Regions from separate parts of the Homo sapiens genome. Here regions 1, 3, 4, 5 and 6 are each linked to region 2. The links are contacts of gene promoters, found by promoter capture Hi-C in human tissues and cell types (Jung and others, 2019). All regions are on one chromosome and are shown on one strand. The core of a region is centred on a gene start or on the middle of the fragment in contact, and the rest is flanking DNA. Distances in the headings are between cores, read along the strand shown.

The links. The method cuts DNA at HindIII sites, captures the fragments that hold promoters and counts their contacts. A contact is called where the count stands out against the background at its distance.
Region 1: a fragment that was not itself captured here is called in contact with the fragment with the promoter of NXNL2 in region 2 in 1 of the 25 tissues and cell types used here (lymphoblastoid cells).
Region 3: a contact is called between a fragment that was not itself captured here and the fragment with the promoter of NXNL2 in region 2, in 1 of the 25 tissues and cell types used here (lymphoblastoid cells).
Region 4: a contact is called between a fragment that was not itself captured here and the fragment with the promoter of NXNL2 in region 2, in 2 of the 25 tissues and cell types used here (bladder and spleen).
Region 5: a contact is called between a fragment that was not itself captured here and the fragment with the promoter of NXNL2 in region 2, in 1 of the 25 tissues and cell types used here (dorsolateral prefrontal cortex).
Region 6: a fragment that was not itself captured here is called in contact with the fragment with the promoter of NXNL2 in region 2 in 3 of the 25 tissues and cell types used here (dorsolateral prefrontal cortex, mesenchymal stem cells and stomach).

What each region holds. Positions count from the first base shown.
Region 1 is chr9:87,622,109-87,624,867 of GRCh38, forward strand. All of the region lies in intron 3 of DAPK1 (death associated protein kinase 1), which reads left to right. Among named protein-coding and RNA genes, the nearest start is that of DAPK1-IT1, 70 kb to the left of the region's middle. The HindIII fragment of the contact is 4,767 bases long and covers 1-2,759 here.
Region 2 is chr9:88,533,699-88,536,481 of GRCh38, forward strand. It overlaps NXNL2 (nucleoredoxin like 2), which reads left to right and starts at 1,480. Exons shown (of 2, transcript NM_001161625.2): 1 at 1,480-2,038. The coding sequence starts at 1,737. It overlaps LOC105376134 (a long non-coding RNA gene), which reads right to left and starts at 842. Exons shown (of 2, transcript XR_007061653.1): 1 at 316-842. RefSeq lists enhancers at 1,266-2,100, 2,101-2,783. The HindIII fragment of the contact is 10,556 bases long and covers 1-2,783 here.
Region 3 is chr9:89,183,172-89,185,988 of GRCh38, forward strand. No RefSeq gene overlaps it. Among named protein-coding and RNA genes, the nearest start is that of SHC3, 5.8 kb to the left of the region's middle. The HindIII fragment of the contact is 4,623 bases long and covers 1-2,817 here.
Region 4 is chr9:87,998,913-88,001,612 of GRCh38, forward strand. No RefSeq gene overlaps it. Among named protein-coding and RNA genes, the nearest start is that of CDK20, 26 kb to the left of the region's middle. The HindIII fragment of the contact is 6,418 bases long and covers 1-2,700 here.
Region 5 is chr9:87,700,157-87,703,214 of GRCh38, forward strand. DAPK1 (death associated protein kinase 1) reads left to right here. Exons shown (of 26, transcript NM_004938.4): 24 at 1-81; 25 at 2,873-3,058. Among named protein-coding and RNA genes, the nearest start is that of CTSL, 24 kb to the right of the region's middle. RefSeq lists enhancers at 1-572, 2,382-3,058. The HindIII fragment of the contact is 4,842 bases long and covers 1-3,058 here.
Region 6 is chr9:87,982,401-87,985,282 of GRCh38, forward strand. All of the region lies in intron 1 of LOC105376131 (a long non-coding RNA gene), which reads left to right. Among named protein-coding and RNA genes, the nearest start is that of CDK20, 9.3 kb to the left of the region's middle. The HindIII fragment of the contact is 6,657 bases long and covers 1-2,882 here.

The DNA.
Region 1 (2,759 bases), core at 9-2,508, 910 kb before region 2:
AAGGTCTCTGGGAACTTTAACAAATTCTGATTTCATTTCTTTGGAGTATTTTTATGGTACCTCCCCCATCCATTTCTCTTTCCCATGCGCCCTCGCTCCCTATCCCCTGTGGAAACAAAAATGCAAGCAGAGAATCAGAAACTGAGCCAATGCCCAGTGTTGGGGTAGGAGGCTGTGGTTTCTGTGAATCCTTCGTAGGTGTGACAACCTCCTACACCAGACACCCTGCAGGGTGTGAGTGTCACCCTGCTGCCTGAGCAGCAGGCTCCGGTACCTCACAAAACAGCACTAAAGGTTGTCTTCTCCTGAAGGTTGTCTCTTACAAACCAAGTCTCTGAACCAAGAGCACATTTTCAAGAACTCCAGTCATTTTGATGTATTCAGTGGGTAGAGGGAAGGTAGATTCTCTTCCCTGAAAGGGGAAGAGAGGAAAAAAAAAGATTGCTTTTGGTTTGTTGGCTTGTTTTATAAATGCCTCCTTATATTCCACATAATGCTTCCTCAATTTAAGAAAAAAATAGGCTGGGTGCTGTAGCTCACGCCTGTAATCCTAGCACTTTGGGAGGCCGAGGCAGGTGGATTGCCTGAGCTCAGGAGTTCAAGACCAGCCTGGGCAACACGGTGAAACCCTGTCTCCACTAAAATACAAAAAATCAGCCGGGTGTGGTGGGGCGCACCTGTAATCCCAGCTACTCGGGAGGTTGAGGCAAGAGAATTGCTAGAACCCGGGAGGTGGCGGTTGCAGTGACCCGAGATTGCACCACTGCACCCCAGCCTGGGCGGCAGAGTGAGACTCCATCTCTAAAAAAAAAATAAATAATAAGGACTTTTTAAAAATTCCATGTCAAGCTGAGAACTGCAGCCTCCTGTTTGAAAATCCGCGCCTCAGCAAACTGCCACTCAATCATTTGGCCCTGAATTTGAGCATGCCATCATTTGAGTCAGTGGGTTGGGTAATCACATAAGGGGCCCACTAGGACTTGAAAGCACAATTGTTTATTATGCTGTGCTGGTAATGACTTCCACCTTCTTAACAGCTGAGTAAAGTGGTCTGGCCCCACATCCTCCTGGGCCTGCTGGTATTAATAAATCATGGTGCATTTTCTTTTCACCAATCCAGCATTCTGTTTCCTTCTTGGATGCTAAAAGAAAGTCATGGTTTTGCTTTTTTCACTTATGAATGAAAGTGATTACATTAAAAATCTTCCTTTTCCACACAGGCTGGACCTTAATGCAGCTTCACAGATTAGTCTTTCATGCCTATGGAAGACCACATTTTTGAGGCTAGAGACCTTTTGGGGATCCCAAAGTATTTCCAAATGTGGATCTTTCTTTTCTTGGCACAGTTGGCAGAGCTAACAGGTTTGGTCCCTCATGCACGAGGCATACATCCCTGAAACATAAGGTTTTTGTGCTGGTAGCGACAGTCCGTCCCCATCATCAAGCAGGACACAAAGGAACTGGAATAAAATTGCCTGTTAATTTTAGGAGACATTGGGGACCGGGTGCAGTGGTGACGCTATGGGCTAGAGGGTGGGTTGGGAGTGGAGGTGTAAGACAAGATAGTTTTTATGAAAGGTTCTGGGTTCCTGAGAGGAAGGGATTGTGCCGGGGATCGAGCTAACATTTCCTGTGCAAGGACTGTGTGCCATGCCCTTGCTCATAAGTGCCTTTCATTTGAGCTCATTTAATGTAGAGACGGTGAAAAAACATCCACCTCTGTAGAAAGCTGGGCCTGAGGAGCAAAACCCCTCAGATAGGAGGTAACACTTTGTTCCTGGACTGGGAGGGGAACTCAAGCAGCTTTATTTTTTCTGAATACTGATAATTGCCATTCACTGAGCACTTTTTATATGCCGGGTGTATTATATACATCGTGTCATTTAATCCTCACAAAAGCTCAAGGAGGCAGGGTTCTGAGATTCTATTGCTACAAAAGAAAGCACTCCAAAGCTTCTTGATGTGAAGTGGCAACAGTCATTTGTTTTGATCACAAATCTGAAATTAGGACAAGGCTCAGCAGGGACACCTTTTCCCTACTCCTTGCAGCCACAGCTGGAGCAGATGCCTGGGGCTAGAGGATTCCCTACTTAGATGGCCCCTGACATGCTGCAGATCACTCAGAGGGGACCCCCTTCCAAGATGTCCTCCACATGACTGACAAGGTAGTGCTGGCTGTCAGCTGTGAGTTCAGTCAGGGCTGTTGGTTCCACTCCACCTGTGCTCCTCCACTGTGCTAGTTGGGCTCTCCCACAGCATGGCAGCTGAGACCTAAGGTCAGGTCCTCCAAAACAGGACATGGAAGTTGCCAGTCTCTTAAAACCTGGATCTGGAAACTGGCACAGCATCACTTCTTTCAGATTCTATTGGTCGAGCAGGCACAGAACTTGCTCAGATTCAAGGCGATGCAGCAAAAGAGACCACAGCTCTCAATGGGTAGTGCCAAAGGGTTTGCAGCCATCTTTATTCTACCAGAGGTGCAGAAAGGTTAAGTGTCTTCCCCTGGATTACTCAGCCAGCAAGTGGACAGGACCCTTATCCCCTGATTTCTTCCAGATCCTGTGACACTCCTGAGTTGGCCAGAGCACCCGACTGACCTCGAGTCAGCTTTCTGTGTCCATTTTTTGCCATCAACTGTACCTGTAACATCAATGCCCACCACAGCGCCAGAGGCCTAGCGAAGCGAATTCTATAAGCATTCCTAAATCACCTTTATTTGGAATTGACTTAAAGAGCAACAATGGCAGGACCCTAGGCTT
Region 2 (2,783 bases), core at 230-2,729:
GAGTTTTTTTGTCGCGCCCTTAAATTTTGCCCCTATGCGAGTGCCTCGCTCGCTTGCCTCCTTCTAGCCCGGGTCTGGCAGGGAGTTGAAATTATTTTTCTCACTGCTGAATTCCCAGGGCCTACAACAGTGCTCGCCAAAAAATTAATACTCTTGGTTCTTCAAATAAAACATTCTGTAAGGACTGCTCCCAATTTCTTCCTGAACTTCACGAACCCTCCCAGCCAGGCCACAGGATGTCAGGGGCAAACACCCTGAACCAACGGAGCTCAGGTTCCCTACCACCCCGCCCAAGCCCGCTCCAAGCCCAATTACCCTTCCCCTTCCTCGTCGTCCCATCCTCCCTGATGCCTCTTCCAGGGTGCTGGGCCGCGCGGCAAGAGCTCCAAGGCAAGATTCAAATGCCCTGGGGAGACGGCTGCGGGACACCTGCGGCGGGGCCCGGCAGGGAGCGCGAGACTGGAAGAGAGGCCAGGAGGGAAGGAGAGCGACGCGGGGTTTTGGGGGAGGGGCTGCGTGGGGCGCTGAAGGGGAGCGCGAGGAGTGGGAGGAAGTGAAGGAGGAGGAAGAGCACGGTGTGGGGGAAGCGCAGGAGGCAATAGGTGGGGCGGGACGGAGGGCAGGGCGCTGCGTCGGGAGAAAGTGTAGAAGCGCTGGGGAGAGTGCCCACGACGGGAGAGCCCAGGGGCGCGAGGGCGCGGGAGTGTGGGCGGGGCGCAGTGGGGATGGGGGCGGGGGCGCGGGATGTGGTAGGGGGCGTAGTGGGGAGAGAGTGCAGGAGTGTGGGCAGGGCGCAGTGTGGGGAGGGTGCGGGAGTGTGAGCGGGGCGCAGTGGAGGGAGTGCAGGATGTGGGCTGGACAACCAGTGGGAGAGGGCGCGGGAGGTGGGCGGGGCGCAGTCGGGATGGGGGCGGGGGCGCGGGATGTCGGCGGGCCGCAGTGAGGGGGAGGGCGCGGGAGTGTGGGCGGGGCGCAGTGGGGGAGGGAGCGGGAGTGTGCGCGGGGCGCAGTGAGGGGAAACTGTGGAATGTGGGCGAGGCGCAGTTGGAGAAGAGTGCGGGGATGTGGGCGGGGCGCAGTGAGGGGAAACTGTGGAATGTGGGCGAGGCGCAGTTGGAGGAGAGTGCGGGGATGTGGGCGGGGTGCGGTGGGGGAGGGTGCGGAGATGTGGGCGGGGCGCAGTGGGTGGAGAGTGTAGGGATGTGGGCCCAGCGCAGTGGGGGACAGTGTGGGGATGCGGGCGAGGCGCAGTGGGGGCGGGGGCGGGGATGTGGGCGGGGCGCAGTGGGTGGAGAGTGCGGGATGTGGGCGGGGCGCAGTGGGTGGAGAGTGCGGAATGTGGGCGGGGCGCAGTTGGGGAGCTTGCGGGGAATGTGGGCGGGGCGCAGTGGTGGGAGGGCGCAGGAGTGTGGGCGGGGCGCAGTTGGGGGAGGGTGCAGAGACCTGAGGGCTTGAGGTTGCCTGGCTGGCCCCGCTCCCAGAGGCGGGTGCCGCGCTGTCGCCCAGGTATCTGGGGTCTCTGGTGTCTGAGTGTCTCATTGTCGGCGCGAACACAATTGCTCCAGCCACAGGCGAGGCCTGGCCAAGGTGTGGGCGCATCTGGGGCAGGTCTTGAGAGGTCCAGCGCCCGGTGGTGCGGACAGAGGCGGGGCACCGCGGCGCTCGCCGCCGCCTCCCCGCAGGTGATCATCCTCCTGCAGGTGTCCTCGGGTCTCAGGTGGCTGCGTGTCTGCGCCATGGTTGACATTCTGGGCGAGCGGCACCTGGTGACCTGTAAGGGCGCGACGGTGGAGGCCGAGGCGGCGCTGCAGAACAAGGTGGTGGCACTGTACTTCGCGGCGGCCCGGTGCGCGCCGAGCCGCGACTTCACGCCGCTGCTCTGCGACTTCTATACGGCGCTGGTGGCCGAGGCGCGGCGGCCCGCGCCCTTCGAAGTGGTCTTCGTGTCAGCCGACGGCAGCTCCCAGGAGATGCTGGACTTCATGCGCGAGCTGCATGGCGCCTGGCTGGCGCTGCCCTTCCACGACCCCTACCGGCAGTGAGTGGGGGTCCTGGGGGGGCGGGGGCCGCCCGGCACGTCTCCCCCATGTTCCCCCAGGCCTCCCCCTCTGCACTGGGGAGCTCTTTATGACGCCCCCCCCCAACACCTCCCCGTCTCTCGGTTCACGTCCGGACTCCGGTAAATCACACTCAGTCTCAGTTTCAACCTCTCTTGGAGACCAGGGAGGGTGCAGACCAGATTCGAAAACCCAGGGCATCGGCACCCCAAGGGGGCTCGTGGAGCATGGACGCGGGCGCGTTTCTGCCTGGGGTCTGGAGCTCCGGGAATCTGCATTGCGAAGGAGCTCCCAGTGGTGGTGATGCTGTGAGTTCGCGGGCTCGGCTCCGGGAACCGCCGGCCCAATCAGCCCTGGACTCCCGGCGCCGCTGCGTCATCCTCCCAGTTAGTGGGCAGGAAGCACAGGGACATGACCCGGTGTCTGGATGCGGGGATGAGGGATGACCCGCGAGGACATCAGCTCTGTGACAGGCACCCACAGTGCAGGCCGTGGTTGGTTTGCTGGGAGGGAGGGACGGGGGCTTCAAGGCTGGCAGGAACCCAGGTGCTGGCCACCTTTGCGGTTTCATTTTTACCGACACTGATGGAATTTCATCACTAGAGAAGCATAAAACTCATTACTATAAACTTTATTACTCTAACTGTTGCAAAGGAGGGGGTAGGGATTGGCAGAGAGGGGATTACAGGGATTGATTGTTCTGCTTTTGGGGTGGGTCTCCTGTGG
Region 3 (2,817 bases), core at 307-2,806, 650 kb after region 2:
GTGGGCTGTGACCCAGGCCCCACACACCTCGTCCTTCCAAGAGTTCTGGAGAAAGAGTGCCATCCACAGAGAGTATCCCCTGGCCTGCAGGGCTCCTCATTCACTCTCACGCACTCCCTCACTCTCTCCCACATTCACCTCTTTAGTGTGGGCTGCCCAGGGAGGAACAGCCTCCAGCAGGTGGCACCCCACAGCTGAGCACCCCCAGAAAAAGTTGATGTGAAGGCTGTGTGCCCATGGCACCCTGCAGCCCAGCCTCTCCCAAAGAAAGGAATGCCAAGCAAAGCCCACGTTTCTAACTTGGACCATTGGGTTGAGCTGAATGTTAGCCATGAGGATGAGGAGCATCCCCATGACAGGCAGGTCATGGGGAAAGGCAAGGGCTGGGCTTGAATGTGTGTGAGGGGTGGGGATCTTCCATGTAGAGATGGCCAGAGCCGAAGAGCAGTCAGGGCTGGAAGTGGAAACTTGCAAATGCCAGACTTCCCAGATGGGAGCTAAGAAAAAAAAACGGTCATAATTTGGAGAATAAATATGGAAACCTGGTTTGATGAATGTCATGGAGGAGAGTTTCAAGAGAAAAACCAGTGATAGTTAACAAATGTAATGATGACAGTCATAACCACCTTGACTGAGTGTCCCTAGGCACCAATGCATGCCTGCTATAGAGAGATATAGATAGATGGTTTACAGCCTGTTTTGAATGAAAAGAAACCAAGAATCAGAGGAGTTACAAAATGTGCCAGAGCCACACTGGGTGAGTGATATGGTTTGGATTTGTGTCCCTGCCCAAATCTCAGGTTGAATTGTAATCCCCAGTGTTGGAGGTGGGGCCTAATGGGAGGTGACTGGATCATGGGGGCAGTTTCTAATGGTTTAGCTGTCCCCCAGTGCTGTCTCATAATAGGATTCTCACAAGATTTGCTTGTTTAAAAGTATGCAGCACCTCCCCCTTTGCTCTCTCTTCATCCTGCCCCTACCATGTAGATGTGCCTGCTTCCCCTTCACCTTCCGCCATAATTGTAAGTTTTCTGAGGCCTCGCCAGCCATGCTTCCCATACAGCCTGCAGAACTGTCAGCCAATTAAACCTTTTTTCTTTATAAATTACCCAGTTTCAGGCATTTCTTTATGGCAGTGTGAGAATGGACTAATACAGTGAGGAACTGACAGAATAGTCTTACTCCAAAGCCACGTTCATGACCCAGCATCACCCCTATTCAGACAGCTTGTGTAAGGTACCTGCTGAGACCCATCCTTGGCAGGTGGTGATCAGCCATCACCCGACATCTTAACAATGGGGATGGAGAGGCTTCTGCTTAGGTAGCAGGATGGTGCCAGCTGAATGAGACCAGAAATGAATGAAAAGATCATACTTTCCAAAAGATGGAATGAAATGAAAGGTGGGACATAGGGTAGTAGCCAGCAGTAGAGCAGAAGAGTACAAAGCAGGGGATGGAAGAGTTAGGAGTGTGTTTAGGGGCAGGGAGCAGAGCAGAGTGGGAGAAATCAATGCAGGAAGGAGACAGGTCAAGAGCCTGGGTAGCTCTTGCCCTGTGGGGATGGTGGGATATCTCATCCTCTGGTGGGAAGGAGGACTTGATGAGCAGACCATTCAGGGTCCAAAGTAGGAAACAGGAGTCCCTCCCCTCTGAAGTGGTTCAAAGGCAGAGACTTTAATATAACAGACATAAAGATGAGGTTAACATAGCCCCAAAGGATGGTGATATGCCAGGGATATATCATCTCTGAGTCACAAGACTCAGAGGCCATCTCCAGCTCCAGGACCAAAGCAACAGAAAGGGAATTGAGTCACTGGAGCCAGGAGAATCCCAGCTGGAACTTTGGAGTGGAGGTTGTCAGAGGCAGCTGAAGTTTCAGAGGGCAAAAGTTACTGACAGAGAGGAGGCCAGAGAGGGGAAATACCCAGACTGTCTCTTTCCCTACTCTTATCTCCTGTTGGTGCCTCCCATTGGCCACATCCATGGGAAGCCAGAGGTCCAGGGAGCTTGGTGATGGGACCATGGGGAGAGGCAGCCCCCAGGCACAGAGCAGACTGGAAGGCTGAGGGGAAGTGCATGCTGAGTGTGTCTGCACGTCAATTTGTCTGTGGCGATGGTAGGAAGCTCAAAGCTTTTATGTCTGATTTGGACGTTACACCTGACTTTCACCATGAATAAAAGGCAGGGATGTACTTAAAAAGTGAGATGATTTCATTTCTGTAAGGCATTTGAGTTGCAGTTGAAGGTACAGAATGGCCACTGAGGGGGGCGAAAGGTGCTGCCAATGTGTCAGGATAAGCAAGGGATTGCTGCATGGCACCATGAACCAGTCATAGAGAGCCCAGATATGGGCATCCATCTGCCTGTTTATGAAATGGAAGACAGTGAATCATTAGCTACAGGGTCCATTCTAGGATGAAGGCACGGGAGGGAGGGCCTGGAGGACACAGCCAGCAGGAGTCAGGAATGGATGTGGGGTAGAGAAGGATAGGATGGCCACTGAAGGAGGATCAAACGCAGGCACAGTGCTCTCAAGGCCCTGGGAAGATTGCAACCTGGGGCCTTGGGGTGCACATCATGGAGAGGTGCATGGGAGCAGGTCCCTAATGGTGCCTCTTGAGGTGTAGGTGGGGAGAAGGATCAGCCTCACCACAGTGTTGGGGGGTGGGGAGTTCCAGTTTTGTTGAAGCCAGAGTTTGGAGTCATCCTGGGAGGAGGCTGAAACAGAAGAGAGCTTCTCCAGGACAATGTGGGAAGGGTGAGATGGCTGGGCACTCAGGGAAGAGCAAATGAGGGCACAAGTTGTTTAGAAGACAG
Region 4 (2,700 bases), core at 22-2,521, 530 kb before region 2:
TCTTTTAGACCTCTGTTCTCCCTCACTGAGCCTCCAGCTTCATGCAATCAAAAATTCATTAGCGCATCAGTTTCTCTTCTGGCTCCCGTAACAATTGGTTCCTAGTGACATGGTCGGTTCAGGAGCCTAAAACTCATCTCGACAACTTTTTGTCCTTCAGGAGTAATGTCAATAGATCCCTCATTTCTGGACTTTATATTCACTTACTCTATATTAATTTTCTCTCTCCTCCTCTTATTTATTTTAGAATGTGGAATTCCCTTTATGCTTTAGCATCTTTATCCACAGACAATATCCATCTCTCAGAGCTGCTGGGAGGATTCCATGGAATCTTGTGTGAGATACTCTGACCATAAGTTAACAGTGAGTTATCTGTCTAGAAAAGGGAGCTCTCATTTATCAAAAGGGAGCTATGCAGGACCCCAGGTTATTCTGTGTATTCAGAATACACAGAATACGTTATTTTGCCTTATCCCATCCAAGCCAATGAGCTTGAAAGTTCTCAACTGAAACTTTCATTGAAAGTTTTCTCAATGACAAACAAACAACACAAACCCTCTTGACTAGTTACTCCAAGTATTACTGGCAGACCAGCAGCTTCAGCCTCCTGTAGGTGCTCGTCACAAGTGCAAATGCTTGAGCAGCACCCCAGACCTACTGAACCAGACTCTGCATTTTTAACAAGGTCCCTTGATGACTCAGATACACACTACAGGTCAAGAACGACCCTCTATAAGCTCTTCTTCATGAAGACATGAGTCCCATTTTCTACGCAAGTGCCTGCAGTTCCTTGGCTGAAGGAAGGAGACAACAGCTCTCATAAAGGACCTTTGTGAGGGTTAAATATTAATATATTTGCAGCAAGTGTTTTAAACTCTAGCTCTAGTTAATCTTTCTGCTCCCCTCTACAGCTTCTCATCTCCCCCAAATTCACTATTTTCTCAAGACTAAAACTGGATCAGTGGCTTCCCATGATGCTTAAATCATGACTTGATCCACTGTTACTTGATCCATTAAGTAATAAATCAGTAAACCTCTGCTGAGTGTCCATAATGTGCCATCTCCTGGGCCCAGGTCCATGAACCAAGCTTCGATCTCAGGGAGCTTCTGTCTCTACCTGAGCATGTATAGGCTCAGACAGGGCTCAGAGCACAGCCATCTGCAGTAGGTTTCTCAAACTGCTCTTCACCATCTGGGGTACCATGACAACTACTGCGTTCCCCCTCTTCAATTGGGGATAATAATAATAATATTCCTCTCAGAGGGTTACTGCAATGATTTAATGAGATCATCATGTTACTGGCCTGTCCATAGTAAGTCCTTAAGACCTCAATAAATGTTTGTTATTATTAAGTCTTTACAAGCCTGGAGAAGTTAAATAATAATGTATTTAAGGATCTAAAGTGCTGCATAATAAATGCTGGATTATGTATTTTACCCTAAATCTTCTAGAGCTTTTCATCCCAAATCTCCTTGTAGTTCCATGTGCTACAAAACAGCTTCATTCAGTGGTGTATGACTAAATGTCTATCAACAGGCCTTATAGGGAGTTATTATATATATTTTATGAGTTTATTATAAATTTTACTGATATAAAGAATATATAGCACACAATTTACTACTAATAGTAAAATATACAATACTCTATCACAAATTTTATGCACCTATGACTTCACTTTGAACTGCTATTTCTTGTAAAATCCAGAAGAGTATTTAATAGTTTTGTTGCCAACATGAGAGAACTTCACTTGCGCAATGATATGGGTGACTTCTAATAATTAGTCAAATAAATAGAAAGTGATGAGTTTGAGCATTCAATACCTGTGTGTTTAATATAATGTATTTAATTACAAGTTTATATGATTTAATTTTTCATAAATGATTGTTGATATGGTTTGGTTGTGTCCCCCACCCAAATCTCATCTTGAATTTTAACTCCCACAATTCCCATGTGTTGTGAAAGGGACCTGGTGGGAGGTAATTGAATCATGGGAGTGGGTCTTTCCCATGCTATTCTCATGATAGTGAATAAGTTTCATGAGATCTGATGGTTTTAAAAACGAGAGTCTCCCTGCACAAGCTCTCTTGTCTGCTGTCATGTGAGATGTGCCTTTCACCTTCCACCATGATTATGAGGCCTCCCCAGCCACATGGAACTGTAAGTCCAATAAACCTCTTTCTTTTGTGAATTGCCCAGTCTCAGGTATGTCTTTACCAGCAGTGTGAAAATGGACTAATACAGTAAATTGGTACCGGGAGTGGGGCATTACTGAAAAGATCCAAAAATGTGGAAGTGACTTTGGAACTGGGTAACAGGAGAGGTTGGAACAGTTTGGAGGGCTCAGAAGAAGATAGGAAAATGTGGGAAAGTTCAGAACTCCCTAGAGACTTGTTAAAGGGCTTTGACAAAAATGCTGCTAGTGATACGAACAATAAGGTCTAGGCTGAGGTGATCTCAGATGGAGATGAGGAACTTGTTGGAAACTGGAGCATAGGTGATTCTTCTTATGTTTTAGCAAAGAGACTGCTGGCATTTTGCCCCTGCCCTAGAGATTTGTGGAACTTTGAACTCGAGAGAGATGATTTAGAGTATCTAGCAGAAGAAATTTCTAAGCAGCAAAGCATTCAAGAGGTGACTTGGGTGCTATTAAAGACATTCAGTTTCAAAAGGGAAACAGAGCATAAAAGTTTGGAAAATTT
Region 5 (3,058 bases), core at 275-2,774, 830 kb before region 2:
CTGGATGCTGGGGCTTCTGGGTCAAAGGACATGAAGGTACTTCGAAATCATCTGCAAGAAATACGAAGCCAGATTGTTTCGGTAAGTACACCATGGAAAGAGCCTGGACCCCTTTGTACTTCCTTCCTGGTTTGCCTCTGGTTTCAGGGAACTGCTTCATAGTAGGACCCAGTAAGAGGTGTCTGCCTGGACATGTCTTTATCCTAGTGCCCTGGGAAAAGAAAGGAAGAATAGAGAAACAAGGAGATGATGGGAGCTGAAGGGTTATTATGGGCAAGGTGGACCACTTCAATTTTATGAAATTCTTACCGATTTATTGGTTTCTTTAACAATATTTTATTTATTTATTTTATTTTTTCAGAGACAGGATCTCACACTGTCATCCAGGCTGGAGTACAGTGGTGTGATCATAGCTCACCGTAACCTTGAACTCCAGGGCTCAAGCAATCTGTCCATCTCAGCCTCCCAAGTAGCTAGGACTATAGGCACGCACCACCATGTCTGGCTAATTTTTTTGATTTTTTGGTAGAGACAGGGTCTTACTATGTTGCCCAGGCTGGTCTCGAACTCCTAGGCTCAGGTGCTCCTCCCACCTCAGCCTCCCAAAGTGCTGAGATTACAGGTGTGAGCCACCATGCCTGGCCAATTTTGGGAAAAAACCAAAAAATTCAAAAGTGACTTATTGTGGAATATTTAGAAAATTCAGAAAAGTAGAAAAACAGTCACAAACTTTTTTGAAAGACAGAAAAGAATAAATGAACAAAGGGAATGAGACTGTATTCTTGGGTTGCAAGATATGACTATTTTATTTTTCCCTAGTTATATAAATGTAATACAATTTCAGTTAGCATCTGAATGGGTTGAGGGGATTGGGATTTTTATCTTAAAATTTCCATGGAAAAATTCATTAAACCTATTATAAAGCCCCTGATAATCAATACAGTTAAATAGGAGGAAAAGCTTAGAGGGTATAGAAGTAAATCATAATATCTTTAGAAATATAATGGAAAATAAATATGTCATTTGAATTTAATGGGGTAAAGATTATTTAATAAATGAACCTGGCACAACTGGCTATTTGTCTGGAAGGAAATAAAGTTGGATTCCTACACCCTACAAAGTCCAAAAATAAATGGATTAAAGCTTTTAAGTAAAAACATGAAACAATAAATACCTTGAATAGAAATTGTGGAGAGTGTATTTTCAAAATAACTAGGGACTGAGGGAACCTGTTAAACCAAGATCTAAAACCCTAGAAATTTTAAAAGAAAATATACCTGTTTGAAAATGTAAAAATTTTTAAAATTTTTTTCTAGCAAACAAATTAAGTAAACAAAGTTGAAAGGTGAAATAGGCTGGGAAAAAGCATTCTCAATGCTTTGGACAGATAAATGGTCACACCGTAATGTTCAAAAAGCTCTCCGGAATTGGTAAGAAAAGGGCGAGCGTCCCAGTGGAGAAGTGGTGGCATTCACTCTGGAGTCTTCCTGCTGCCGAGGCCTGAGGACAAATGCGGGCAGATGCCTGTCTCCCTCTCTTACCTTTGAAGCTGCCTCTGGGTGTATTTTTTTTTTTTTTTTTTAACTGCTTTGCTAATAAGAAAATGCTGTGCTTCCCGCACCAGATTCTGGTTCTAGATGTGCTTCCAGAATTCTCGGGAAACCCTTTCCTGTCTCCAGAAAACCCTGCCCTTCACACCAGATATCCTCGTTGGGGTCCCACTGTGGCATCATCAGAAGATAGGGGGTAGTCCGGTGAGGCCTGGGAGGAATCTGTCACAGAAACCAGGGGCGGTGATCTGGGAACTAACAGTGGTCTCTGAGGGCCCCTGTGCTTCCCCACCAGGTCTGGATTGAGGCTGCATTCCTGAGGCAGGAGGGAGTGTCCCTGGAGATTTTTGAGCTGGGCTCTGGCATGATCTGCTGCTTCTCAGACACCCCCCGCCCAACCCCTAAACTCCTGAGCTCAGGCAGGTGGAGCCCACCACATCAACTGCACTCACCCCTGAGAATTTTGTTTTTGAATGCAGAGTGGAATTTAGCTGACACAAAAGAATTTGAGAGGGGAGTGCGGAATTAATGGCACGGTGTAGCCTGTGGCTTATGTGGTTTCTAATTCAGAGGTATGTGGATTACGTGAGTCTGTAACATATGCTGATCTAATTAACCAAGTTAAAAGGTTAAAAATCCACTTCAGCCTACATACCAAGAATGGGTCTAATTGGAAACAATATTTCAACAACAGTCCCCACGAATGCCTAATTTACTGGTAAACACTCACTCTAATATTGATGATGATACTCATTCTCTTTTCCTCTGTTCATAAAGTGATCATTGCCTGAGTGAAACAGTCACGAGAGAGAGAGCGAGGGAAGAAAGGAGGGAGGGAGGAAAAAGTGAGGGAGTGAAACATTAGGAGTTGGTGAACATTAGTTGATTGAGTGACTGAGTCCACAATTCCAAAAACGTTCCTAGAAGACTCAAAATCTATTTAACATGAACTAAAGAGCCTTTATAAAACTTTATATTTGAGCAATAGATGAGGCTTAAAAGCAAGTCTAAAAGACAACTGCCCCAGTACTCAACCCAAAAAACACAAACTAGCCAGACACAGTGGTGTGTACTTGTAGTCGGAGCTACTCAGGAGACTGAGACAAGAGGATTACTTGAGCCCAAGGGTTTGAGACCAGCCTGGGCAATAGCGAGACCCAGTCTAAAAAAAGAAAAAAAAACGTCAACAACAACAAAAAAACCCACTCGTTCATCAAATCACCTGCAAGGCGCCTGAATGAAAGGTGTCCTTTCCACTGTGGCTCTGCTCAGGGCACCCACAGCTGCAGGTGAGTTAACCTGTCTGGCCCTGCCCCCTCTAGGTCTGTCCTCCCATGACTCACCTGTGTGAGAAAATCATCTCCACGCTGCCTTCCTGGAGGAAGCTCAATGGACCCAACCAGCTGATGTCGCTGCAGCAGTTTGTGTACGACGTGCAGGACCAGCTGAACCCCCTGGCCAGCGAGGAGGACCTCAGGCGCATTGCTCAGCAGCTCCACAGCACAGGC
Region 6 (2,882 bases), core at 338-2,837, 550 kb before region 2:
AGTTCTAGTGTTCTGTAGCACTGTGGTATGACTATATATTAGTTAACAATAATATATAGTTTCAAATAAGTAGAAGGAGGATATTGAATGTTTCCAACACAAATAAATGATAAATATTTGAGATAATGGATATGGTAATTACCCTATCTGATCTTTATACATTATGTATTGGACACTGTACCTGTCAAAACATCATTATGTACCCCATACATACATACAATTACTATATGTCAATCAAAATTTTAAAATAATAATAGACACATTTGATTTTATCAAAATTAAAAGCTTCTGTGCATCAAAGGACACAACAGAATAAAAAAGCAATATACGGAAAGGGAGATTCATGAAGCTGAGTGAACACCAAACAGAATGAATCTAAAGAAAACATGACCCAACCATAAGCCATCTACAACGAACTCATTCCAAATATAACAATATAAATAGTTTGAAAACAAGTAGTGACAAAAACTAAGAAGTTGTAAAAAGAAGTGATGGGGGTATGTTATAGAGACACAGGAGCCAGCTGAAAGAATTCCTAATGGCCAAAGCTAGAACAATTTGACCAAGAAAATAAAAAATATAATAGTACATTATTAACCGAAGTATAAAATAAATATACATAAGGAAAGCCTACGAAAAATTCTTCTAGATATTGGTCTAGGCAAAGAATTCATGGCTAAGACTTCAAAAGCAAATACAGCAATAACAAAAATAGACAAATGAGACTTAATTAAACTAAAATGTTTCTGCACAGCAGAAAAATAACGCAGTGAATAACAACCTGCAGAATAGGAGAAAATATTTTGCAAACTATGCATCTGACGGACTAATATCCAGAATATGCAAAGAACTCAAACATCTTAACAACAACAACAAAAACCAAATAACCCCACTAAAAGCAGTCAAAGAACATGAACAGACATTTGACAAACAAAGACATACAAATGGCCAACAAGCATATGAAAATATTCTCAACATCACTACTCATCAGGGAAATGAAAATTAAAATGAGATATCAGCTTACACCAGTCAGAATGCCTATTAATAAAAAGTCAAAGGCCAGGCACAGTGGTTCACGCCTGTAATCCCAGCACTTTGGGAGGCCGAGGCGGGTGGATTACCTGAGGTCGGGAGTTTGAGACCAGCCTGACTAACACGGAGAAACCCTGTCTCTACTAAAAAAATACAAAATTAGCCTGGCATGGTGGCACATGCCTGTACTCCCACCTACTAGGGAGGCTGAGGCAGGAGAATTGCTTGAACCTCGGAGGCGGAGGTTTCAGTGAGTCGAGATCGTGCCATTGCACTCCAGCCTGGGCAATAAGAGCGAAACTCTGTCTCAAAATAAATAAATTGTAAAAAAAAAAAAAAAGAAAGAAAAAAGAAAAAAAAATGTTGGCGAGGATACAGAGAAAAGGGAATGCTTATATACTGTTGGTGGGAATGTAAATTAGTACAACCTCTATGGAAAACAGTATGGAGATTTATCAAAGAATTAAAAATAGAACTACCATTCAATCCAGTAATCCCATTACTGGGTATCTACCTAAAGGAAAAGAAATCATTATATCAAAAAGGTACCTGCATTTGTATGTATGTAGTAGCACTATTTCCAGCAGAAAAGATATGGAATCAACCTAAGTCAACCTAGGTGTCTATCAAAGGATGATTGAATAAAGAAAATGTTTTATACACACACACACACATATATGTATGTGTATATACAGGAATACTACTCAGCCATATGTTGGGGACCAACCCCAACACCACCCGTAGGGTACCCAAAGTCCGGTGGTGACAAAGGAATGAGAAGAGACAGGTTAAGAGTTCATAAAGGTGGGAGCCAGGGGGCCAGAACAAATCAGAGGCTGCGAAGGTGCCAAGCTCTGGTCTCCACACTATTTATTGAGTACAGTCACTTAGATCTAAGAAGCAGATGTTCAGGGGTGAAACGGTGAAAGCGGGGGGCGGTGTGACATACACCTAATCTATAGCAATGGCGGTTTAGGTAAATTTTCTTTGTGCTGAAGCAGCATAAACTTAACTACTGATTTATTCTTTAACTTATTGGAGAGCAGCTATCGGGAGTGGGCATAACTAGGAGCCGGCATATCTGGCCACATTCCAATGCTTCAAAGGAGTGTCTTTCTCCTTGAGCACAGTGTTTATAGATAAGAGAGCAGGTCACGCTCTGGTCATGGGAACGTTATGGCAATTAGAAGACTTTCCTCCTCAGAGGCCTCTTGTGGCTTTCCACAACTTATTGTCCCATATTTTTATGGCCAGTTTATGCAGGCACCCCACAAGCCCTTTTCCCAACAGCCATAAAAAAAGAATAAAATCATGTCATTTGCAGCAACATGGAACTGGATATCATTTTTATATCTATATATATATACACACATACACATGTATATATGTGTATATACATATATACACGTATATACGTGTATATACGTGTATATACGTATATACACGTATATACGTGTATATACGTATATACACGTATATACGTGTATATACGTGTATATACATATATATATTTTTTTTTTTTTGAGACGGAGTTTTGCTCTGTCACCCAGGCTGGAGTGCAGTGACAGGATCTTGGCTCACTGCAACCTCTGCCTCCCGGGTTCAAGCAGTTCTCCTGCCTCAGCCTCCTGAGTAGCTGGGATTACAGGCACACACCACCGTGGCCGGCTAATTTTTGTATTTTTTTAGTAGAGTTGAGGATTCACCATGTTGGCCAGGCTGGTCTCAAACTCCTGACCTCAGGTGATCTGCCCACCTCGGCCCCACAAAGTGCTGAGATTACAGGCGTGAGCCACCGTGCCTGGCTTTCTTTTCCCGTTTTCCTTTTTTTTTTAAGAAAGGGGCTCCTC